4 separate regions of the Homo sapiens genome follow, and all the other regions are linked to region 4. The links are contacts of gene promoters, found by promoter capture Hi-C in blood cells and fetal thymus (Javierre and others, 2016). All regions are on one chromosome and are shown on one strand. Each heading gives the region's core, a stretch centred on a gene start or on the middle of the fragment in contact. The rest is flanking DNA. Distances are from core to core; before and after follow the strand shown. Region 1 overlaps MFHAS1 (multifunctional ROCO family signaling regulator 1). Region 2 has its middle 47 kb from the start of CLDN23. Region 3 has its middle 44 kb from the start of CLDN23. Region 4 holds the start of PRAG1 (PEAK1 related, kinase-activating pseudokinase 1).

The links. The method cuts DNA at HindIII sites, captures the fragments that hold promoters and counts their contacts. A CHiCAGO score of 5 or more calls a contact.
Region 1: a contact is called between a fragment that was not itself captured here and the fragment with the promoter of PRAG1 in region 4, in 1 of 17 cell types (M0 macrophages). The highest score is 5.1, in M0 macrophages.
Region 2: a contact is called between a fragment that was not itself captured here and the fragment with the promoter of PRAG1 in region 4, in 4 of 17 cell types (M1 macrophages, M2 macrophages, M0 macrophages and 1 more). The highest score is 8.4, in M1 macrophages.
Region 3: a contact is called between a fragment that was not itself captured here and the fragment with the promoter of PRAG1 in region 4, in 15 of 17 cell types (M2 macrophages, M0 macrophages, endothelial precursors and 12 more). The highest score is 31.3, in M2 macrophages.

Annotation. Positions count from the first base shown.
Region 1 is chr8:8,867,063-8,874,356 of GRCh38, reverse strand. All of the region lies in intron 1 of MFHAS1 (multifunctional ROCO family signaling regulator 1), which reads left to right. Among named protein-coding and RNA genes, the nearest start is that of MFHAS1, 23 kb to the left of the region's middle. RefSeq lists a silencer at 5,584-5,878. The HindIII fragment of the contact is 1,084 bases long and covers 709-1,792 here.
Region 2 is chr8:8,745,451-8,752,653 of GRCh38, reverse strand. No RefSeq gene overlaps it. Among named protein-coding and RNA genes, the nearest start is that of CLDN23, 47 kb to the right of the region's middle. The HindIII fragment of the contact is 5,283 bases long and covers 872-6,154 here.
Region 3 is chr8:8,654,718-8,661,719 of GRCh38, reverse strand. No RefSeq gene overlaps it. Among named protein-coding and RNA genes, the nearest start is that of CLDN23, 44 kb to the left of the region's middle. The HindIII fragment of the contact is 2,820 bases long and covers 1,477-4,296 here.
Region 4 is chr8:8,384,735-8,388,919 of GRCh38, reverse strand. PRAG1 (PEAK1 related, kinase-activating pseudokinase 1) reads left to right here and starts at 2,481. Exons shown (of 6, transcript NM_001080826.3): 1 at 2,481-2,599. RefSeq lists a silencer at 2,099-2,778. The HindIII fragment of the contact is 9,968 bases long and covers 1-4,185 here.

The DNA of each region.
Region 1 (7,294 bases), core at 1-2,500, 490 kb before region 4:
TGTGTGTGTGTGTGTGTGTGTGTGTAGAATGTTATAGTATATCCTACAAATATAGCATAGTAGTCTACCAATGGATGTATTGTTCAGTCACACCTATACCGGCAGACCTTTGATCCTTTCCAGATTGTTAAACTAAGTACGTTCTCCACCTTCCAGAGGTGTAAGAAATACTCAGTTTTATTTCCTTCAGGGTTAATAATCCCTCTCTGTGCTCGGAACACTCTTGAGATGCAATTAGAAAAAGACAAATCTCTAAATCAAAGTGGTGGGACCTAAAAAAAGCCTCGAGGGTTATGAAGGCTTCGCTTTGTGATTTGAAACAAGGTAATTTTTTTAAATTGGCTTTGGTGATGTGTATTGGAACACCATTGTTTTCAGCATAATTACGCATTTCACAGCTTAATTCAGCCATTACACGTGATGCAGTGTTTAGACATAGCAATAATTACAAATTGTACATGTTTACAGATAGATATACCGCTGATCAAAATAAAACAGTGGCAGCAAGAATGATGTTCTGTCCATGTAAGAAATCAATGAAATATAATTAAGAACGAACTGTATCTCATTGACTCAAAACATTGCATCTGCCTTTCTGTCCCATCTGTTTTCTAAACAAAAATCTTCCCGCGCTGCGTGGTTGTTTTTATTTGTATCCTAGAACCATCCTCTCGAGTTCCACACCGTTGTATTTTCTACACCTAAGCTTGGTGTGTTCTGCACAGGAAATGTTTCTTGGATGTTTTATCCTCATACCAAGTGGGAATTTAAAATTTAAGAGATTACCCACACTCTTTGCCTTTCTGTACATGTGATGAAGAAAGAGTGGGTGTAACCCAGCACTCTAAAATGTGTTTGACCTGTAAAAAAAAAAAAAAAAAGTAAGCAATTAAATCCTGTTATAGTTGCTTCTGTGTTTAAAACATACTTAATGACGTATATATTTATTTCAAGCTAACAAAGTCCCCAGTCAGGTTCTTGGGAGTTTTTTTCACAGGACTCATTGAAGTGTTTGGTCTTTAAAATCCTTCATTTCATGCTAACTGCCAAGTCAATGCAGACAGTATGGCCGAACAGAGCTGGTCACATTTTCCCTGAACATGCTATTAAAAAATATATTCACTGGGATTCTCTTGACTCATGGCATAGCTGAGGTGACTTTGATTCCGGAGGGCTATTGCTTATGAATTGCATGTGGAAGAACTAAAAATAGAAATGTGAATTTTCCAAAAGAACACTATGATACCAAAAATGGCTCACTGGCTTGCCTAGAGCTGGGCTGTTTTGTGCCCAAGGTACAGTAATAAGAACTGGGATGCAAAGCCCTGTAGGGTGCATCTGTCCCCTTCCCTGACACCCCTCACTCCCAGATGGCTCACGAGTGGCACTGCCCGGTTGTCTCCGTCTCACTCTTGCACGATGTTCTGCTGCCTGTCTGGGATGGAGCAGGTGTTCTTTTGAATGTATTTGTTAAGCCTCTGAAATATATGCATTTCCCCCTCCCCAAGAAAAACACACATGTGCATGCTCTGTGCTTTTCCCTGGTTACTGTATTGTTCCCATCTTTTTTTTTATTTTTATTTTTTCCCTTGGAATAGGGAATATCCACTCATTTTCTATTTAGTCCCTTCAGGAATTTGCCTTAGGGGCTGTTGGGCCAGGCCTCACTGCAGCCAGCCAGAGCTTATCAGCTGTGTGTTAACCTCTCCCAGACACTTCTTGAATGCTGTTCATGCATCCGAGCCTATGCATCTGAGCCTCCTCTGTGTAATGTGGTGCGGCATTAAAAGCTTACCCAAATAGCAGGGATGATTGCATCTTGTTGATTACCAGGGCTGATAACATTTTCTTGCTTAGCTAAAAAGAAAAGCCAGATGACTGTTTCCAGGAAGTGATAAACTGCCATGCATCCGGCCCCAGGTGGTCCGCATGAAGGAAGCTGCAAGGTTGGAATCCTCCTGCCGTCCCCTTTTACAGTTCATAAATCTTCTGATTTATGGGGCCATTTGTGATTGCAGACACATTTATTCATGGGGGGATTTCCATCGAGATCATAACCCACTGTAAAGCAGGAGGAAGAATCAGGAATTAGAACGGTGTACATTCCTCTTTGTTAGAAAAGAATCCCGATTCTTTGGTCATAGACAAATATTTGCTTTTGAAGAATCTGGTGGTGTGTCGCTGGCTTTGTTCATATCCGTGCACAGTCACATGCTCCCTTGCCTCCCATGGACCCAGAAGCTTATGTTACACAGATCGTTTTATAATGCTTGCCATCCGGGCATGTTTATGCAAAGTGTGAATAACTTTTTGCCTTAGCCTCCTCTTCCTTCCTTCTCCCTCCTTTGATTTAGCTCATTTCTGGAATGGGGCAGATTTTCATCTCAGGGAGTTGATACGGTTTCCTAGGTAGGGTGACAGAACAAGTGTCACCTTAGCTGTAGCTAGAGATGAATATTGCCATGCAGCTTACTTGCTTTATATTAAACCAGCATTAGAGAAAGAGGCCTTGCATCTTTTATCAGCAGTATGTTAACCTCTCCCAGGCACTTCTTGAATGCCATTCATACATCTGAGCCCATGCATCTGAGCCTTGGATGTAATTAAATCAGTGGATTAGGAAGTCGGGGGCCTGGACCTCTGGGAAGCCACTTGGCCTCCCTGGGCCTCAATTTCGTCTGTAAATAGGTAAAAATAATTCTAACAGTTCCCAAGCATTTACACCTGCTATCAGAGTCTCCTTAGATGTTGTGAGGGGGAAATGAATGAATAGATGTCAAGTCCCCAAGTAGTTTTTTCTTTGTTTGCGTGTTTGTGATCACTCTGTTGCCCAGGCTGGAGTGCAGTGGAGTGATCTTGGCTCACTGCAACCTCCACCTCCCTGGTTCAAATGATTCTTGTGCCTCATTGTCATGAGTAGCAGGGATTACAGGCATGTGCCACCATGCCCAGCTAATTTTTGTATTTTTAGTAGAAACTGGGTTTCACCAAGTTGGCGAGGGTGGTCTCAAACTCCCGACCTCAAGTGATCCAGCCCCCTCGGCCTCCCAGAGTGCTGGGATTACAGGTGTGAGCCATCACGCCCAGCTGCAAGTAGTTTTTACCATATAATAAGGGCTCAGTAAACATTAGCTCTGATTACCATCATCCTGGTTTACAGATGAGGAGTGGAGACAGAGGAGGGCTAAGTCATATGGCCAGGGGCACACAGCATGTAGCAGAGCCCAGGTTGTCCTCAGGAACCTATGGTCTTTGCTGTCACCCTGTGCTGCTTCTCAGGAAGGCAATAGCTTGTCACCCATTAAAAATGGGTAGTTATTTGAATGAAAAGCAGAATAACCCCCGGAGGCAGAGGTTGCAATGAGCTGAGATTGCACCATTGCACTCCAGCCTGGGCAACAGAGTGACGCTCCTGTCACCAAAAAAAGAAAAAAAGTAAGGACTCCTTGTGTGAAATGCACATGGTTGCTTTTAACATTGCAGTACTGGACTATAAACATTTGCTGGGGATTGGCAGTGACCAGCCATGGGGCAGAGCATGGGGCATGGGAGGGGAGCAAGGCCTTGACCCCGGGAAGCTGCAGTCCAGGGAAGCAGTGTGGACAGTAAGCAGAGATTTGCAGGGCTGTGTAATAAATTCCAGGAGAAAAAGATCTCCAGGGGCTCGGAGAGGCCTGCGGGATGGAATCTGTCTTGATCCACGTGTGTGTGTGTGGGGTGGTTAGATGGATGGGAGGTCTCCAGGGGAGGTGAGTCGTAGGGACTTTCTGTAAAACCAGGGCCCCTGACGTGTGATGGGCTGTACAAATTACTGGCAGCCCAACTATTCATTTATCAATGCACGTCTGTAAATATTTTTGTTTTCTTTTTAAACCTTTTTTGTTTTCCTGGGAGACAGAGTCTTGCTCTGTCATTTAGGCTGGAGTGAGGTGGCGCGATTTCAGCTTACCACAGCCTCAACTTCCTGGGCTCAAGCTATCCTTCCACTGCAGCCTCCCGAGTTAGCTGAGACTGTAGGTGCGTGCCACCATGTCTGGCTAATTTTTTTTTTTTTTTTTTTTTTTTTGTAGAGACAGGGTCTCACTATGTTGCCTAGGCTGGTCTTGAACTCCTGTGCTTAAGTGATCTGTGCATCTTGTCCTCCCGAAGTGCTGGGATTACAGGTTGAACCACTGTACATATCCCGTGTAAATAACTTTTAGCCTATCTATTCACTAGCTAACACTTTTTCACCAGAAGGAACTTCTGGCATCTGGGTGTTAAGCTAAATTAAAGCCTGATGGTTTTTTTCAGAGGGTGAGAGGAAAATACTGAAGGGTCAAATGGGGAAATGTCAAATTTCCATTTTGTCAGCACACTCAGGGCAGCAGTGTGGAAGATGGATTTCAATGGAGTAAGAATGGAGTCAGAGGGACCACTTAGAGGTAATTCAGACAATAATAAACAATAGAGGCCCCCAGGTAGGTCCTTGGGGATGAAGGCAATTGAGTCTTGGATGTTAATGAGGCAGAGTCCTGGGCCTCTCTCCTCCTAGCTCTGAGCTCTTGAACCTTCCCAGGCTCCGGTTTCCTCATCCATTAGACAGAAAGCATGACTGATTTAAGTGTATGTTTCAAGAAAAATTTTAACCACAGCGGGAAGAAGACTGCAGCATGTTTTAAAAAACAGAAAGCGGAAGTGATTTGATAAGATTAATTTCAACAGGACTGATGTGGAACGGCTGCTAGCTTAATTGGTTTATTAGGGTCGTGTAGCCACCCTCTTATGATGGATACCAGGTGAATTCCAGGAGATATATAGTCTTAGGTTTGTAAGCAGTGCCATTTGCAGAGGAATAAGGTTCTTTATTTCTTAAATTTGGAAGGGTCTCATAGAAATAAGAGACTTTATAAATATCTAGTAACCTGTCACCGCTTTAAAATACCGCAAAGATAAATGATGCTGATTGTCGCGTGCTTGGCATGATGAATTATGTATGTAGCGTGCCCCGGAGTTCTTTATGGTTGTGCATAACGAATCAGCTTTTGTTCTAGCTTATTTTCAGTGGTAGTGCTTGTAAAAGCAGAGGTCAAAGCAGATGCACTGAAGAGATGTGGTTGGTGCAGGATGATCGGGTTTTGCTATCCTGTTCTGTGCATTGCTTTTGTTTGTGCTTTGATTTTTCATTATCAACTTTGGGGAGGGTGGGAGAGCAGCCTTGTGGCATTAACAGCTGCATGATGGCACAGAGCAGGCAGCGACTCTTCTTGGTTCATGCACCTCAAAAGCGGCCCTCTTTTTGCCTTCCTCCTCCTCCTCTCTGCACCTGCTTTGCATAGCTGTTAACTACTTTTCCACCTAATAATAAAGGAAATTGAAATAAATGGTTAGGAACATGCCCATAATCTTTTTTCTCACTGACTTTCTCTAAACTCTAGACGAAACTAGAGAGGATTAAGAAATGTAAAACACAGCAGAGAATGTCTTTTTTTTCCTCTCCCTTTTTCTCTTCCCCTAGCAAAGATTTCTTTAGAATCTGAGTGAGATATCAGAGGTGCTGTTTGCATATGAAGTAGCGATGACTATGGGTGGAAGCCAGTTGTAAGGTTGCATAGTCATTTATAACTTCTTTCTATGTTAAGGTTACTACCGACTTTATGAGAGGAGCCTCCCAGACTCAGGTGTCATGCCTGACTCATGAGTAATTCATTAGAGAGGGCCCAAGCCATGTATTTCATTGTGGGTTTGTGAGCGGCCTCATCTTCCATAAGATGCTCATTTGTTGGGCTGATCCAAGGCAAAGATCCGAGTAGTTGGGAGTAGCTCCAAATTGGGATGAGCCCAGGCCTACTGTGCATATCTGTTTGGAAGGGCACATCTGTCTACCAAGGGCTGGTTCCAGTGTATTAGCCGAGTGGCACTAGGTAATCAGTTTACAGTCAGTTTAAAAAAGTTGAGGCTATCCTTCTCGGTGATTAATTATGGCTTTTAGTTCATACTAGATTAAAAAAAATCTTTGCATCTTTGCAAGAATAATCATTAACTTAGTTTGTCTATATTATTAGCCGAAAGATACAACACAGTGCTCATGCAGTGTAGAGAAATGAGATAACATCTAGAGTTTACATGTAAGTAGCTATTTGTCAGGATATTTATTCATTGATTCTAGATTCATAAAGCAGGAGTTTCCAGAGGCCTTGCAGCAAGGAATAAGCACCTGGGAGATTCAACTGAATCCCCCTCAGAGCCTGTGCGTTGGGAACTTGGTCTAGAAAATGGATCAGGTTTGTGCGCTATACCACTTATTATAATAAATGATAAAAGTCAGTCTGGACAGAGTGCCACAGAAGTTCAGGCGAGAAAGAGGATTCTTCCAACTGAGTGGGGCCATGGAAAAACTCGAGTTCCATTTATTAGCGGTAGGAAACACATGTTGAGAATGAAGAATGGAGTTAAACAATTGGTCTTTCCCTCAGATCCCAGGGTTTTTAACCTGTTACTAAAAAAGTATAGCAATTTATGGCCAGGCACGGTGGCTCACGCCTGTAATCCCAGCACTTTGGGAGGCCGAGGTGGGCCCATCACGAGGTCAGGAGATCGAGACAATCCTGCCTAACACGGTGAAACCCCGTCTCTAGTAAAAATACAAAAAATTAGCCGGGTGTGGTGGCGGGTGCCTGTAGTCCCAGCTACTTGGGAGGCTGAGGCAGGAGAATGGCATGAACCCGGGAGGCGGAGCTTTTGGTGAGCCGAGATTGCGCCACTGCACTCCAGCCTAGGAGACAGCGAGACTCCACCTCAAAAAAAAAAAAAAGTATAGCAATTTATAATGTTTGAATTATCATTAGCTTATTGGCGTGTAATAATACTTTGCATACTTTTAAAATTCTGGGGTTGGATTAATAATAAAAGAGTAGAAACATTGTTTTTATAAAAAAAATTTTCTGTGCGACACCTATAGGCAAGTACCTATGGGCCTCCTTTTAATTTTGGACTGTTTTAGGAATGTTTTATTTTATTTTTGGTATCTTAGGAACCATAAGAAGCATACTTTCAAAAATGTGAGGGTATATTTTTAACTTTTGTTATAAAAATGTAACAAAAAGTTTATATGGTGAAGAATTTAGTGGGTTTGCATATGCTGATGACCATTGTGACTTTCATAAAACCCCACAGCCTGTGTTTAATTCCATTTCCTACTAGTACAGACTTGAAGAGCTCAGTCCATCTCCTTTATTATCTTGTTTCCTTTAATCTATATTAATGCACCTTAGCAGTATCAGAAATTTTGTTAATATATTATGTGTAGCTGAAC
Region 2 (7,203 bases), core at 2,264-4,763, 360 kb before region 4:
CTTGTTGTGCCTTGAAAAAGTATTCTTTTCCCTGTGGTTGTAGTTTTTAAAATAAATTTTTCAACAGCACATCTCATAGTATTGGGTAGAAATAACAGGAAATCAATACATACGAGTCTGATTGGCTCATTAAAATACAATAAGTGAGTCAAAAAGGTAAGCGGCTGGAGTGAGCAGAAAGCGCTGCAGTTCTGGACTTTAAAGTATAGATGATGCAATGAGTTTGACAGCCTCTTTGACCAATTAGTTTCACAGCTTTCTAATTTCTGCCAGTTAGAAGTGACATAGGTGGGTCACTGAGTATTCATTCCTCTGGCCTCAGGCCAGGTGACTCTTAATGTCAGGATGTCAGAGGGTAGGTCGCAACCCAACTTTCTCCAAAACTTCTAGAAAAGTCTCACAATTTTATGTAAGCAGACACCCTGAATTTTTTATCAATCAAAATCCAGACCTAATTGATGAAGCTCCTTAAAACATAAAGCTGAGTCTTTTATTTACTTTGTGGTTTCAGAGAAAGTCACATGTCTAGTTGTTCTAGATTGTTCTACTTTCCTTCTGTCGCTATGAGAGATCATTTCATCTATTTATTCTCAAAGGCTGCCACCATCCAAAACATGGAGAAAAACCCTTAGCCCCTCATTAGAGGAATGAGACTTGGAGTTTCTATTAACCCAATTTCTGAGCAACCTCTGTTTGACTCAACTTGAGACATACTCATGTTAAATGGCATACTCTTTGGGAAACCCAACTGACTTTCTGATATTTACAAAATATTTAAAGAAAGAGAATAAAAAGCCTTTAGAGCAAAACCCTGGAAATATATAATTTACTTCCCAAACATTCAAAAGAGAATTTATGATAGTAAAAAGCTTATTATTCTGGATTAAAACCAACCAATGTGTTTAGTCACTTTACAGAAAATAAATTTAAATCAGGATCTGAAATTAAATATAAAAATATAACGAGATTGGTAAATAGCTTTAAGGTCTTAAAATTCAAGTGTGTCTCTGTTGTTTACATCGTAATGATTTCTGAATTAATGGTATTAATAATTTCATCACCTTTTAGTAATAGTAATATCTAACACATATAGTTATTTTAAGGTGACTTATACAGTAGCCTTACTAAGTAGGTACAATTATATCTTTTTTACAGATGAAGAGATGGGCACCAAGAGTTGATTGCCCAACTCTACACAGCTAATAAATGGCAGAGCTTAATCTTAAACAACAGATTTAAGTCCTAAATCCTGAATACAGAGTCCAAGTTTTTAGCTGCTACATTTGACTTTGTCCGAGTTATTATCAGAAGCAAATTGCCAAACTTTCCTCTTTTGCCTCCCAGCACAATTTATGGGCGGTCTCTCCTTCTCACCCAGGAGTGTTGGGTAAATGTTTAACAACCAACCCTCTGAAGAACTGATTTATAGCATTTGCCAATTTCCATGGTGTAAATATTCCTTCCTGGCCAATTTCACGTTACCAACTTGGTGTCACTGACCATGAGGTTGAGAAAAGATGGGCTAAAAATTTAGCAATTGGCTCTCAAGAGCGAGTCCTATCAGTTCATTTTCTGGGTGTAATTTTAAGGGTAAAACTGAGGCAAGGGTGAAATTAAGGTCTTGGGTTACCGTTTCAATGGTGTCTGCCTCTAAGCCCTTCTCCAGACGAATTTCTGAGGCTACCAAATTTCTTAGGGGAGAAGAACCAGGATGTGGGTTTGCCTTGCGCTCCTGAGAGTTTGGCTTTCTGCTGCGCCACCTGGTGGCTGTAACTGACAGTTGCTGTATTCCCTGCTGCTGTCTTGAATTCAGGCTTTAGGGTTCTTCTCCCCGAGATGGTCAGCATTCTTTGCCCAGGAGCAAGTTCAGTTACTAATAAGGCTTCTCGTGGGTAATTGGACTCTTTAACTGACAATCTCCTTTACTGAGGCCTTTAGGATAAATTCCCAGGCGTTGGGCCAAAGGGCAGTTGAGTAACAAATTAGCAGCCTTGTTGTCCTCCGCTGAAACCACCCCAACTCCACAGCAGTAGAGAGCATCCCCAGGCTTGGTTCATAAATGCCAGAATATCCGGTGTCCTAGCAAATGTCCCAAAGCTCTTGTCACTGTTTTCTAAGAGGCTTAGAGGGTCTTCAGCAAACAGGTCTTCAAGTCTTCCACATTGATATTCGATAGTTCCAAAAGCCGAAGGCATAATCCCATCCGCCATCGCATAAGCCTGCCCTTTCTATCACTACATAATTTTAAGATTATATATAGATATATATAAATTACATACATATATAGATTATATATACACATATATAGATTACATATATATATATATAGATAATAGATAGATGATAGTCAGATAGCAATGATTTGGAGGTTACCTTTTGGTTGCGCTGATCCATACCAATAATCTGCTCCTTAGTGTATTAGTAACTGAGCACTAATCCTATATTTGGGAGTTCCTCAAACATTCTTCCCTTCTTCATTTATTTTATTTTATTTTATTTTTTGTAGAGACGGGGTTTTGCCATGTTGCCCAGGCTGGTCTTGAACTCCTCAACTCAAGCGATCCTCCCGCCTCAGCCTCCCAAAATGCTAGGATTATGGCATGAGCCACTGCACCCAGCCACCTTCTTCATTTTTGTATCTTCTACTTACTATGAATTTATTCATACAACAAGTATCTATTGAGCACAGCTATGTGCTAGTCATGTGGCTAGGATGTGGACACAATGATGAATTAGACATAGATCCAGCCCGGAGCTTGAGGGGCTACCGTGGTGTGGTGGAAACTAGGGAATACATTTGGAAGCCTTAGACAAAGCAGAATGCTGTGGGTGTGATGATGAGGGGCCACTGCACTCCAGCCTGGGCAACAGAGTGAGACCCCGTCTAAACAACAACAACAACAACAAAAAGCCCATACGTTGCTGTAGGTTGCTTCAACAAACAGTTTCACATGTCCCTCTTCCTAAAGATTCCTTTTCAGCTGGTTTGAGACAGAGCCTAGGAATCTTCATGTTAAACATATTGAATAAACACTCAGATAATATTTGATGCAGGTGATCTAGGGAACCCATTTTGAAAAGCATCGTCCTTTAGAGGTGGGTTGCTCCCAAGTCCCGCTGGCATCTTGCCTAAACAGTGCTTTTGTCAGCAGGCTGGATGCTTAGCAAGAACCTGCAGTCCTGGAGTTCTGAATGAATAGATTTTAAACTGGGGCCTATATCACCCTGAGGTTACAGAGAAACTTTACAAGGGTTTCTTGCCAGGTGGTTTTCAGGGCATTCATTTATTGACCCTCAGCTTCCCTTTGTACTGTTTTGTAAAATCCATCCACAGAGGCGCTGCAGGGCCACCAGGTTGGGTCTTCTCTCCCCACCTGCCCTTTTGTCCTCCCACTCTCAGCCTCAAGCTCCTGGGCTCAGTTGATGCTACTGCCTCAGTGATTCTTCCATATTTTTGAATATTTGAGATCATAGACTACATGGATTTGTAACATTAGGTCTCAAACTAACACAGTTTGAGATTCATCTGGGAAACAGAGGATGAAATCAGAGAGGGGTGGACGGTGGGGACGTGGGCTTTCTAGGACAATGGAGAATAGCAGGCAGAGCTGTCATTCAGGGCCATCTAGACACAGCCTCTGCTTTCTACCTGGAAGGGGAGGTGGCCTTGTAGATTGTGAGGCAGGTTCAGGAACAAGGAGAGGCTGATGCTTTCCAATACTACCTCAAATGGAAGCACATGGATTACCAGCGTATATTATTCCAGATTGGCAATGCCTGCCTGAGTCTAAAAGGGTTGTTGCACTACAAGGGTTTAGCTGTTTTCTCAACATTGACGAGGACCTACCTGGACAGAGAATGACACCAGTCCCTTGAGTACTATAGGCAAGTCAGGAGCCAGGACAAACCTCTCCGGGTCTCTCACCCACTCTCTGGGAGCCTCCTTGTTTCTGTTAATTTCTCTCTCTTCGCCGAATTCAATTGGGAAATATAGCAGGTGTATGGGAATGTGTGTATTTCTGAGGGGGAATGTCACTTCTCACTGATCTACAACCCACCTTAAACACTGCAGCATTACATCATGAACAATTTCCCTGGTCAAAACAACAACAACAACAACTCAGTCTAATGAATACACAAGATTTTACTACATGGCCATGTCATACTTTATTTTTCTAGAAGGCAGTATTATTTATATGTATATATATATTAGGTTTCTAAATTTTTATGGTTATATATAAAGTGCTGTATCTTTCAACTTTTAGAAAGTTGCTCTACAAATCTTATGTATTCATTCAAAGAGTATTTATTGATATTTACTATGTGTAAGTCACTGGTCTGGGTAATTTAGAGAGTCCAAAGATAAATCATAATTAGACACTGCCCCAGAGGAGCTTATGACTTACAAGGGAATTAGTACTCTATGGATGGAAGTTATGCTTTATTTCATCTTGATAAGGATCCTCTGAGATGGGCAAGGCGGTGCTACCATCTTCATTGCTTTTGTATGGAGGAACAGGAAGTGCAGACACGTTATGACCCTTGCCTGAGGTCACAGATGGTCTTCAGTCTAGCCTCACACTTGATTGATAGTTTGGCTATGATAATCTAGGTAAATTGTTAAAAATAAATACATTAGGAAAATGCAATGTGATAAACATTTATAAATAAACTTGTGAAATTTTCAGGTTATGTTAAATTAGGTAATAGATATTCACAAAATGTCTGAGTCATTTCTAAGTAAGTTAAAATACTGAAACATAAATTGCTGAACATAAATATATGTTTGTTCTTGGCTTCTTGAATTTTATATAAAGACTAAATATATTTGGGTTTATTAATACACACAAAAATTATGTTTTGGGGAAATGCTTTTTGAAATGATAAAATGGTTCACATCTGCAACATATTGATATGTGACAGACACTAAAAAACATCTTATTTCCTAGGTTTTCAGTAGAAATTAAAGTTATTAAGAGTTAAAAATTCTAACTAATATATATAATTCTGCATATAAAGTTTACCAAAAAATGCGATATGTTTTTAATGAGGATTCTCCTTTTATGACCTTCCCTGGCTCTATTTGTTAGAATTTTAAACATGTGACTGAATTTTGATTCTGACAACTTTCACACACCTGCAAATGATCTTCTAATTTACCTACCTTCGCCCTCCTGTTGTCTTTTTTTTTTTTTTTTTCTTGAGACAGAGTCTCGCTCTGTCGCACAGGCTGGAGTGCAATAGCATGATCTTGGCTCACTGCAACCTCCACCTCCCAGGTTCAAACAATTCTCCTGCCTCAGCCTCCCAGGTAGCTGGGATTACAGGTGTGCACCACCATGCCCGGCTAATTTTTGTATTTTAGTAGAGACGGGGTTTCCCCATGTTGGCTAGGCTGGTCTTGAGCTCCTGACCTCAGGTGATCCACCTGCCTTGGCCTCCCAAAGTGCTGGGATTACAGGTGTGAGCCACCGCACCCGGCCCCTCCTATTGTCCTTTTCAAAAACTATCCGGACCATTTGACCCAGCAATCCCATTACTGGGTAAATATTCAAAAGAAAACAAATGATTCTACCAAAGAGACACATGCAGGTGCACGTTCATCACAGTGCTATTCATAATAGCAAAGACATAGAATCAACAGAGGTGCCCAACAACAGTAGATCGGATAAAGAAAATATGGTACATGTACACCATGGAATACTACACAGCCCATAAAGAAGAAAAAATCATGTCCTTTTTAGAAATATGGATGCAGCTGGAGGCCATTATCCTAAGCGAATTAATGCAAGAACAGAAAACCAATTACCACGTGTTTTCACTTATAAGTGGAAGCTAAACATTGAGTACTCGTGAACATAAATATGGGAACAACAGACAGTGGGGACTACTAGAGGAGAGGAAGAAGGGAGTGGGGCAAGGCCTGAGAAATGACCTATTGGATACTACGTCCACTACCTGGGTGATGGGATCATTCATACCTCAAACCTCAGCATCACACAATACATCCAAGTAACAAATCTGCACTTGAACTCCCTGAGTCTAAAACAAACGTTGAAAAAAACCTATCTGAAAAGATTTTTAAAACTCTATTTTTGAATACTTTTATTGATTTTTTAAGAAAAGTTGTGTCAGACTTTTAATTGTCAAAGCTTTTCTTGTTCTTTGATTTTTATTTTAAGGTGATACTGTTCTTGTTTTATAGATGTCTTGTGTTTGCTTATTTCTCAAACAGTCATAGTTTCTATGGAACTCTCTTATGCTCCCTGTGTTGTCTCTGTTTCTCTGAATTTCTGGTTTCCATTAGTCTGTTTTGGTCTTTTTCTCTTTACTTTTTTTTTTTTTTTTGAGATGAAGTCTTGATCTGTTGCCTAGGCTGGAGTGTAGTGGCATAATCTCAGCTCACTGCAACCTCTGCTTCCCAGGTTCAAGTGATTCTCCTGCCTCAGCCTCCCTGGTAGCTGGGACTACAGGTGTAGCACTACCACGTCCAGCTAATTTTTCTATTTTTAGTAGAGACGGGGTTTCCCCATGTTGTCTAGGCTGGTCTCGAACTCCTGATCTCAAATGATCCACCCACAGCCTCTTAAAGTGTTGGGATTACAGGTGTGAGGCACCGTGCCCAGCCTCTTTCACTTTACTTTTATTTTAGATCTTGTTTTCCCCAAATGCCTGGCAAGTTTGGCCCAGCCATTTATGAGCGAGGCATATTTTTGAGCTGATTGTAGGTTGTGTATCTCATGAGGCTTGTGTCTAGTGGTCTTTACTATAACAGGGTTGGGAAGCGACTGCGCTGCTTTATTGGGCAACCTCTAAGTGTTAATATCCCCAGAGAAGGATGCATGCCCCCGTTTCCTGTTGGGAGAGTGTAAGCTTGGGTGCAGGTGTGACGGACCCGGGCGGAGGAAGAGGCTGGGTGGAGAAAGGTAGGTAGACTCTCACGTACTCCTTGTATTTTTGGATCTGGCATCTCACTCTACTCTTGGAGAAATCTTGAGAATCATCTCTAAAGAAACTTGTGGCTGTTCTTGTGGGTTTCTTGATGACATTGAGTTATTAGGTTGGTGCAATAGTAATTGCAGTTTTCACAATTTTAATGACAAAAACCGCAATTACTTTTTTTTTGGAGATGGAGTTTCGCTCTGTTATCCAGGCTGGAGTGCAGTGGTGCCATCTCAGCTCACTGCAACCTCCACCCCCTGG
Region 3 (7,002 bases), core at 1,637-4,136, 270 kb before region 4:
CTGGACAGGGTACAATGACAGCTATTTGAAAACTCTGCAAAATAAATAACAGTAGGAAATCAGGGAACAACACCAGAATTCTAAGAGCCATAGAACTGGCAGATAGAAACAAGACCCAGCATAATACTGAAAATGTTCAGGATACAAACCAAAATTACTTGTGATATTAAAAAACCTCTAATTGTGAAGTGGCATCGTTGTCTGGGGTAAATACCTGAGGTTCGTTGTCTGACAGCCACAGAAAACTAGGACATTAAGACATAAAGAGTGAGCTTAAGAGCAGAAGTTTAATAGGTGAAAGAAAGAGAAGAGCTCTCTCCTGCAGAGATAGGGGTCCTGAACGGGTCACCAGTCTACGGTGAAATGCAGAGCTTGAGGAGGTAGTGTCTGATGTATACAGGTCCCAAAACATTGGTCGGACCAGGTGTGCCATTTGCATAAGGCACAAAAAAGCTGGTTAGGACTAGGTGTGCCATTTGCATAGGGTGTGAAAAACTGGCTTCTCCCACCCTAATCTTGTATTATGGATGGGTTCTCTACCTGGCTGCAGCCATGTCGCCTGTTTCTTTACTGTACACTTGGTAATAAAGAGAAGGGAAGATGGAGCCTCCATGTTGGATGTGCCTGGCCCCCGGGTAGCCCTTTTCTGTTGGTACACTGCTGGCATTCACACATGCAAGCTTCCAGCTTGATTATCTATCTTTGCAGCTTAAGTTTTCAGGCTGCTCCTTGATAGAAAAAATAATTTCTTGGGCTACTTTTTGTTAGAAGGGAAGCCTTGCTGAAGACTCTTTACCCTCACTATTTGCCTAAATAATTTATTTCTAGCTCCTGTATCATTTGCATGGGAAAAGAAAATCAACAGACACCAATGATTAGATGACACAGATAATAGAATATTCTAGAAGGACATTAAAGAAGCTATTATTAACGAGCAAGTCCAAACACTCTTGTAACTTTGGATTTAATTTGGTCTTACTTTTTCTAGTTTCTTAAGGTTGAAGATGAGGTAATTGATTTCAGAACGTTCTTCTTTCTAGTGTAGGCATATAGTGTTACACATTTACCCTAAGAACTGCTTTAACAGCATCCTGAAAATTTCTATATGTTCATTTTCATTTAACTGAAAATACTTTCTAATTTCTCTTTTGATTTCTTCTTTAATCCATTTAGTATTTACAAGTATATAATTGTGTATTATTTAGTTTCCATCATCCAAATAATTGGGATTTTCCAGAGATCTTTTCATAATCGATTTGAATTTACTTCCATTGTGGTCAGAGAACATACTTAGTATGACATGAACACTTCCAAATTTATTGTAACTTGTTTTATAGCCCAGAATATTGTCTATCTTGGCAAATGCTCTGTGTGTCTTTGAATACACTGTGTGTTTTGCTGTTGCTAGGTGGAGTGTTTTATAAACGTCAATTATGTCAAGTTGCTTAACAGTGACTTTCAAATCTTTGATAAGCTTGATGACTTTCTTTTTACTTCTGTCAATCAGAGAGCTAATTATTGAAATCTCCAAGTATAATTTTGGATTTATTTTGTTCTCTTTGTAGTTCTAACAATTTTTGCTTTATGTAGTTTGAAGCTCTGTTATTGTGTGCCACTGTTACTAATTTGCCACTCCAATTTTCTTTTGATTAGTATTAGTATGGTATATCATTAAAAATAATTTTTAAATTATTTTACTTTACCCATGTTTTAATATATAAAGAACATTTCCTTCTCCTCTTCTTCTTCTTCTTTTGACTTAACAACAGAAATTTATTTTTTCACAGTTCTGGAGGCTGAAAGTCTGAGATCAGGGTGCCAGCATGTTTGGGTTCTGGTGAGGGCTCTCTTCCTGGCTTGCCAACAGCCACCTTCTCACTATGTGCTTACATGGCCTTTCCCTGGTGCCAGTGTGGGTGGGGGCCAGGAGAGCAAGAAGAGCATGTCTTATAGACAGTATTTATTTCGGTCTAGATTTTCAATCCAGTCTGACCATTTCTGCAGTTAATCAAGATTGTTTAGCTCATTTACATTTAATGTGATTATTGATATGATTAGGTTTAAATCTGCCATCTTGCTGTTTGTTTTCTAGATGTCCTATCTGTTCTTTACTCACTTTTTTCTATTTTTGCCATCTTTTGAATTAACTGATCCTTGAAATAATTTTTTTTTTATTATTGGCTTACTAACTATAAATCTTTTTGTCATTTTAGTAGTAAAATATAGTGTATATAGTTTATAGTGGAGAGCATATAATTCTAATTTTTCACTGTCTTCTTTTGTCTGACCTACCACTTTATGTGTAAGAATCATACAATAGAGGCTGGGTGTGGTGGCTCATGCTTGTAATCCCTGCACTTTAGGAGGTCAAGGTGGGTGGATCACGAGGTCAGGAGTTTGAGACCAGTCCGGGCAACACAGTGAAACCCCATCTCTACTAAAAATACAAAAAAAAATTAGCTGGGCATGGTGGGGGGCACCTGTTATCCCTGCTACTTGGGAGGCTGAGGCAGGAGAATTACTTGAACCCAGGAGGTGGAAGTTGCAGATCCGAGATCGTGCTACTGCACTGCAGCCTGGGTGACAGAGCTGAGGTCAGCAGATCGAGACCATCCTGGCTAACATGGTGAAACCCTGTCTCTACTAAAAATAGAAAAATTTAGCCAGGCATGGTGGCAGGTGCCTGTAGTCCCAGCTACCCAGGAGGCTGAGGCAGGATAATGGCGTGAACCCAGGAGGCGGAGCTTACAGTGAGCCGAGATCGCACCACTGCACTCCAGCCTGGGTGACAGAGCGAGACTCCATCTCAAAAAAATAAAATAAAATAAAATAAAAAGAATCACAGAATAGAATATTTCTATTTCCCCCTCCTGGTTGCTCTGCTAGCACTGTAATATATTTTACTTACACGTATGAAGTTTAACTACATTGTTCTTATTTTTGTTTAAATATTCAGTTATCTTGTAAATAGATTTAATAAGAAAAATCACATATAGTTACAATTTTTGGTGTTCCTTTTTTGTGAAGCTCCTTACTTCCTTCTGCCTAAAAGACTCTAAAATGTCTTGCAGTGTGGATTTGCTAGTGAATTCTTTCAGTTTTTCTATGTTTGAAAACATCTTCATTTCATCTTTGTTTCTGAGAGATATTCTTGCTTGGTGTAAAATTCTAGCTTGATAGTTTTTATCTTTCAATGTTTTGAAGATGTCTGTTGGCTTACATTGTTTTCTATTAAAAAAATCTATTCTCATCTTTATTTTTGTTTCCTCTTTATGTAACATCTTATTATTTTCCTCTGGCTGCTCTAATATTTTGTGTCTATTATTGATTTCTTTAACAATTTGATTATGATATGTCTTAGTGTTTTGTTTCATGCTTCTTTTGCTTGGGGGTTTGTTGAACTTCTTGGATCTGTGAGTTTTTAGTTTCAATTAAGTTTGCAATGTTTTCAACTGTCATTTCTTCAAATATTTGTTCAGTTGCCTCTCCTCTCCTCTGGCAACTCCACTGCACGTGTATTAGGCCAGTTGAAGTTGTCTCAGAATTCACTGATCCTCTTTTAATTAAAAATTTTTTTTCCAGACAAGCGTGGTGGCTCACACATGTAATCCCAGATTTTGGGAGGCCGAGGCAGGTGGATCACATGAGCTCAGGAGTTCAAGACCAGCCTGGTCAACATGGCAAAACGCCATCTCTACTAAAAAAACACACAAAAAAATTAGCCAGGTGTGATGGCACACACCTGTAATCTCAGCTACTCAGGAGGCTGTGGCAGGATAATTGCTTGAACCTGGGAGCCGGAGGTTGCAGTGAGCCAAGATTGCACCACTCTACTCCAGCCTGGGCAACAGAGTGAGATTCTATGTCAAAAAAAGAAAAAAAAAATTGTTTTTCCTCTCAGTGTTTTTATTTTGGATAGTTTCCATTGCCATGGTTTCAAATTTACAGATCTATTTTTTTGCTATGTCTAATCTACTATTAATCCCATCAATTTTTTAAATTTTTGATATTGTAGTTTTTTATTTACAGAAGTTCAATTAGAGTATTTTTGTTAAATCATTTTTCTCTACTTAACTTTTTGAATATCTGGAATATGGTTATAATTGCTCAATGTACTCGTCTACTAATGATAACATCTGTGTCAGTTTCGAGTCAGTTTTGAATTATTTCCCCCATCATGTGTTATATTTTCCTTATACTTTCTATGTTTGATAATCCTTATCAGATACCACCCGTTGTGGTTACTACCATTTTTGGATACGTGATACTTTGCTTTCCTATAGCTGTTCTTAAGCTTTTCTCTGGGATGCAATTAAGTTGCTTGGGTATAGTTTGAGCCCTTCAGATTTAGATTTCATAATTTGTGAGGTGGATCTGGAGCAGTGTTTGGTCTGCGGCTAATTATTTCCCACCGCTAAGACAGAATGTTCATGAGTATTCTGCCCAGTGTTCAAAAATGTGTTTTCTCCCTGGCTGGCTGGTGGGAGGGAACAGCTAATAGTCTTGACACTTGGTGAACACTGTGTGCTTTTCTCTGATCCTTTCAGATGTTTTCGCCCCTCTGGCATTGAGTAGTATCTTCACATGCTGTCACGATCAATACTGTGTGAATATTGACAGAACCCCGTCCAGATCCCAGGATTCTCTCTCTGTACAACTATCTCTGCTGGTTCTCTGTCCTGTAAACTCCAGCTGCCTTGCTATCCCTGGACTCTCATTTCCATCTTCTTGCCTAAAGGAGTCCACCAGCTTCTACCTGGGTTCTCCCTTCCTGTGCCACAGTCTGGAAACTGTCTCAAGACAGTGAGCTGGGGCAAAAATAGGGCTCCACTAATTTGTTTCCCATCTCTTGGAGGTCACTGTGCTTCATTGCCTGATAACCAACGTCTTGCAAACTGTCATTTAATACATTTTGCTGTTCTTGTTTGTGTGTGTTCATACTGGTTTCAGGCAGGTGGCAAAATGTGTCCACCTTAAGTCAAAATCTGACTCCATCTTAAGCAGAAACAGTTTTCTTCCAGCAGTGTATCCTTGCCAGGTATACTGAATAATCACAAAATGTTTTGCTGATGCAAAAGTGAGATGCTGGGAGGTTAAAGGCCTCACCACAGAGCCATCTCCCCGTGATGCTACCTCCTGGAGGAAGGGCATGCACTTTTCGTGTCTTTGCGAGAGAAGTTTTAGTAGAATCTTTCCATCCTGGCACGTTACTTGGCTATAATTACATTACAAATGCTAATGGGAGTTATAATCACAATTATGCTAATCTCTGTGTTTAGTGCCTACTGTTGCAAGCAATTATGGCCAATGAGCTCAATTTGTAAGTTAGCATTTATTAAAGTTAGCCACTGAAATATTCTGTCTTAGGCAGACTGCCTCTAACATTTTTGACTAAAGTGATTTACTTAAACAATTTCCTAATAGGGAATAAGTACTTACAAAAAGGCTTTTCATCTTCATTTTCCTTTGATGAAACAGAAAGGAAAACATGCCTGGAGTCAATGTTTTGGCCTGTCTATTAGATAACAAGGGCTCTGTGAAGTTCTTTAAAAATATTTCAGAGAAAGTTTTCTGAACAAACTGCCCAGCTCTGGCTCAGAGCTCTTACAGGAACTGTAGAGGAATTGATGAGGAGAAACCTCACATCCCAAATGGCAGCAAATAAGAGACTTGGCAGCCTGTGTAGGCAGTGGAAGACAATTAGGACAGGAAATTAAACACACACACGATCTCTTTATATTTACGTTTCATGCATTTATCTGGGAGTCCATCAAAAGCAGATATGTTAAATGGATGTAGAACTAGACAGGCAAGATTCTAAAGCATACATTTTTCTCATTGCTAAAAGGAGAACTGTAACTGAGATGGTCTTGAGGGCGTTTGCTTTTTCCAGGAGTTGATAATTTTCTGATCATCAACTCCAGGGTCCAGGACCTCATGCTGGCCTGAGCTTCTCAGGGCCCACCTTGGGGTACCCAGCAGGACTTATTACAGTGGAGCCTGGCATCTACCAACATGTGACCTTCTCTCCCAGTTTCTGTGCTCCATGTCTTTAAGGCCTGATGGTTCTTCTTGGTTTATCTGATCAACGAATACAAGGAAGGCACTGCTTGTATTGTGGGTGCGCTGTGGGGCACAGGCAGGAAATGCACAAGATAACCCCTGAGCACTTCCAGCCTGTGTCCTGCCCAGCGCACCTGCAAGGGGAGGGAAGAAAATCATAGAGCTGTTATTTATATTTATTTTTATTTCATTATTTTCTTATTTATATTTCATAATGTTTATAATATATTAGGTATAGTAATATGAACGTGTGATTCAAACATATATACGTACAATAATACACCCATCTAATTTATACACAGTTAACCCTAAACTTGCCCTAATTGTGTAAATCTCCTTTCTAGGTATTCTATCAATTTGTCGTCTTTTTTTTTTTTTTTTTTTTGAGACAGAGTCTCACTCTGTTGTCCAGGCTGGAGTGCAATGGTGCCCCCTTGGCTCACTGCAACCCCTGCCTCCTGAGTTCAAGCAATTCTCCTGCCTCAGCCTCCCAAGTAGCTGGGATTACAGGTGCATGCCACCATGCCCAGCTAATTTTTGTATTTTTAGTAGAGATGGGATTTCACCATGTTGGCCAGCCTGGTCTTGAACTCCTGACCTCAGGTGATCCGCCCGCCTCGGCCTCCCAAAGTGCTGGGATTACAGGTGTGAGCCGCCACGCCTGGCCAATTTGTCTTCTTGAAGACAACTCTGTCAGAGCCTCCGAACCTGTGCCAATCTGGGTTTCTGGCTCTCTGGGTTTGCCGTATACCTGTCGCCTTATGCTGTCTCTTGGCCAACATTTGGGAATGATCGTTGCTTCTTTCTCTCTTTAGTTGCATGGATCTCGTATCTTGCTTTCTCTGGGTATATTTCTGGCATATCTAGCTTCCTGAGAAAAGAGTAAAAGGAAGGTGTGGTGTTATGATATATATCGGTTTTTGTCCCCAGTTCCTGGCT
Region 4 (4,185 bases), core at 1,232-3,731:
TTCAAGACCAGCCTGGCCCAACATGGTGAAATGCTGTCTCTACTAAAAATAGAAAAATTAGCAGGGCATGGTGGTGGCCGCCTGCAATCCCAGCTACTCAGGAGGCTGAGGCAGGAGAATGGCTTGAACCCGGGGAGTGGAGGCTGCAGTGAGACAAGATCTTGCCACTTCACTCCAGCCTGATTGAAAGATGAAACTCCATCCCAGGAAAAAAAAAAAAAAGAATAAGTTAGGTAAAGAGAAGAAAATAAAGTGCAAAAGTAAGTGCTTCTTTTATGTGTTCAGCACAGCCTTTATTCTGTGAGGTCAATGTCTCTCTTACAGAGGAAAGAAGTGAAACATTTAGCCTGAATCCTGAGAACCAGGAACTTCTCAAACATCTTAGTTTGCCCTCTCCCAGTGTAAATGAATTGCACACTTTCTGAAGTCACTTTTGTATTTCTCCATTGCAGACCACTTTGTACCTACCTGTTTAATCAACATCTTCCCCTCTTGAGTCTTGGTAGGGTCTGGATCTTTCAGCTCTGTTGGATGCTCATGAAGTGTAACCAAAGTTTCCCTTCCTTTTTTTTTTTTTTTTTTTTTTGAGACAGGGTCTTGCTCTGATACCCAAGCTGGAGTGTAGTGGTGCGATCTCAGCTCACTGCAACCTCCACCTCCCTGGCTCATGTGAGTCTCCTGCCTCAGCCTCCTGAGTAGCCGGGATTACAGGCGCCCACCACCACACTCGACTAATTTTTGTATTTTTAGTAGAGATGAGGTTATACCACATTGCCCAGGCTGTTCTTGAACTCCTGGCCTCAGGTGATCTGCCAGCCTCGGCCTCCCAAAATGCTGGGATTACAGGTGTGAGCCACCGCGCACGGCCAGTATTTGTTCAAATGATTTCTCTCCACTTAGGGGAGAGAGAAAAATAGGGCTGGACTACCTGCACTTGGCAAGGGCAGAGTGGCAGAGTAGACTTGCCTACCAGCGAAGCCAGACAGCCTTTGGTTCCAATCTTAGTACTACCACTTTTCAGCTGAGGAACCCCAGCAAATTGTGAGGCCCCCGAGCCTCAGTTTTCTTATCTGTAGAATGGGGATAATGATGCTCTCCTCATAGGATTGCTTAGCGCTGGGTAGGTCCTTAAGGAATGTCCATTGCACTCCCATCCCTCTACAGCTTCCCCCAGATTCTGTCCTCTTAGGAGGCATGGGTGTCACTGGAACATGAGGAAGAATTCCCTGGATCCTTTTTTCCCTTTCCTCACACAGAAGCCAAACCTCAAATACACATCTTCCCTCTCTGTCCACACCCACAGCAGCAAAGAGGAGAGCCAGGGATCTGGGGGTGGGGGTGGGGGCCCATCTTCCTCCTCTCAGTGGGTGGGGGCTCGCAGGCTGACTGGCAGAGGACCTTCACTGGAGTCAAAATAAACTGCCTTCCTGGGGAGGGGATAGAGGGCGAGAGAAGCCGCAGGTATTGTTTTGTGGGGGAGGGGGGTCCTCTTCCTATTCCATTTCACTGAATTCTTCCCACCCGGCATGGCCCTGGGAGGTGACCATAGCCCTGGCTCCCCGAGTAAACACCCAGGTCAAGCTACAGGACTGACTGGGTCTTAAGCTATTATACTCCCAGTGAAAAGATTTTTTTAGCCCGAGGACTATCTCGAACTCGTTCTATCTCAGTGAATGACTCACTGGAAACGGTGTAAACACAGGTGTATTACTGGCCTGCGGAAGACTTGGATGTCCCAGCATGGTAGAAGGCCAGGTCCCTGCAGTGCAACGCTTGCATTCTACATCCAGAAAACTAAAGTTCAAAGAGGTTAAGCAATTTGCCAGAATCCTGCAGTCCAGGGACTGAGCGGAACCTGGAATCCGCCACCGGGACTTCCAGCCCTGCTCCCTCCGGCGCCACCCTCTTCCCAGAGGTAGGGAGAGCTGAGGCTCGCTGTGCTCACGTGGCTTTCAGAGCCCGCCTCGGACCCTGACCTGTATTCCACTCCCGACCCCACACTTCCTCGTTTCCCCTTCCTTCTCCCTCTCTTCCCAGGGTCCCGCAGGGCCGGCTGGATGAAGTGATGCCGGGCACCTATACACGCATGATGGCAAAAGGAGGATTGCAACGCCAGAGCTCGCCCCTCCAGAGCTGTGCAGGGTCCCCACCGAGGAGGGGGTGCAAACGGGTGCTGGGCTCGGGGGTCAGCCCGCGCCAAGTCTGGGGCTGGGGGCGGAGCCTGCCGGTCCGGGGCGGGAGGGTGGGCAAGAGAGGGAGTCCCGGGGCCTGGAGACTTTGGAGGAGTCGGGGCCCTGGGGGTAGGAGACCGCCGGGTGGGAGCGGCAGGCGCAAGCCGGGCGGCGGGGCGCGCGGGCCAGGCGGGGCCGGGCGGCGGCAGGGACTGCGGAGGTGCGGCGTGAGCTGGGGCGGGCGGCGTCACCGGAGGCGGAGGGGGCGGAGCCGCGCTCACAGCTGCCACCCGGCCGCCGGGCCCAGGCAGAAGCCACCCGCCCGCGGCCGGGCACGCACCGCGCGCAGACCTTCTGCGAACAATGCTCCGGCCGGGCGGCTGGCGGCTCGGAGACCGACGGAGGGGCCGGGGGAGCGCAGCCCAGAGGTGAGCCCGCGACGCGCTCTCCAAATTCGGCCTCTTTTTGTCTGGCGAGCGTGGTCGCAGAGGGGAGCTTTGGAGGGGCGCTGCGATCGCCGAGCGGGCTACCCCCGGGGTGACAGGCGACCGCTCGGGAAGTGGGCAGTGCCGGGGCCGCGTGAGCCCCGGGTGGTGCCCGAGGTGCAGGGAGGCGCCCGGCCGGGAGGACCGAGGAGCTGGAGGGTGTTTTTGATTCATTCGAGAATCGCGCTCTTTAAAACGGGGAAACTTTCCTACGAGTTCCAGGAGGGAGGACCGACTGTTAGGATGGTTTCTCTGGTCTTGCTGCTCTGTCTGCGGCCGGAGGCTGAAGCGCTTTGAGGACTGCTTTCCACCGCTAGAGTATTGTCAAGGGGGAGAGACGGAAGGCCGCCTGGCTGCTGGGACCAGGACCCGGGGGGATGGTTTGGGGGTGCAGGGTATGCAGCAGCGGGGCTCCAGAGGCAACGAGATGATGCCCTTTTCCCCGAGCCCTGGCTGAGCCCTCTGAAACGCATGCTGTGAGCACGTTATTAACCTTTGCTGGTATCCGGGGACACACACACTTAGAACATAGAATCCTCTGCTGGGCATGGAGGCGGCCGGGCATTCGCAGCGGAGAGCGCCAGCTCACGGTGTGTGCGTTTCTCTCAGGTAAGCTCTCCCTGCACATGGTTTTGCAGAGCCGATAGCAAAGCCCAATGGTCTAGGGGCGAGGAGTTTTGGCGATGCATTCAGTGCGGAGTCAGGCTCAGAAGGCTTTCCTGATCACTGGCCTGAACTATTCTTAACAACTCCTCTCCCCTTCCCTTTCTGAGAAGAAAATTTGACAGAAAGCCCTAGGGAATTCCGCAGTTATTTTTCTCTCCTGAGGTCTGGTTGGTTTCGACTGTAGTGGGTGCAAAACCACATTCCTCCCTCTGAGATTTTCTTTCCTCCAGCACTGGAGGAAGAAAAAAGAAAAGGAAAAGTTGGGTGAATATCGTAATTTACCCTCTGCGTGAGTAGGGAGGCAGGGGGCTAGTGGGTGGTAAAGTTGTCACTTTCTCCTTTCTGCCTGGTCAGCCCTGGCCAGTGGAGTGTGCTGAAGTTCAGACACTTTCCACACATATTTCTTTCCTTTTACTGGCGTTGCATTAATTTAACTGTAACATACAGAAAAAAATTTTAGGTGAATGTTTTCTGCAATTCTGTCACTTCAGAATAAGGCATAAGCAACTTCTGATGTAAGTCTGAGGGGGTATTTTGGGCCAAAATATTTAATCTTAAAGATCTGGCCACCTTGATTCTTCAGATTCTTTTTTGAAATGGGGTGGGAGTGTATCTGACAGCTTCAGTCTTGCAAACTGTAGCCACAAATCTAGTGCAGAAGTTTGCAGAGGCAAAGACATTTTTTTCATGACTTGGATCAGAAAGAATGCTGAGCTCTTTTTTCTAATCTGACACTGCAGCCTCCTACTGAAATGGGGAGGATTTGCATAATTCTGGGGGCTGCCTCCCCTCAGAAGTAAGGAATGTGGGCTGCGAAGTGCCTTCCCCATGCTGTGGAGAGCTGGCACTGCTGCACCAGGCAA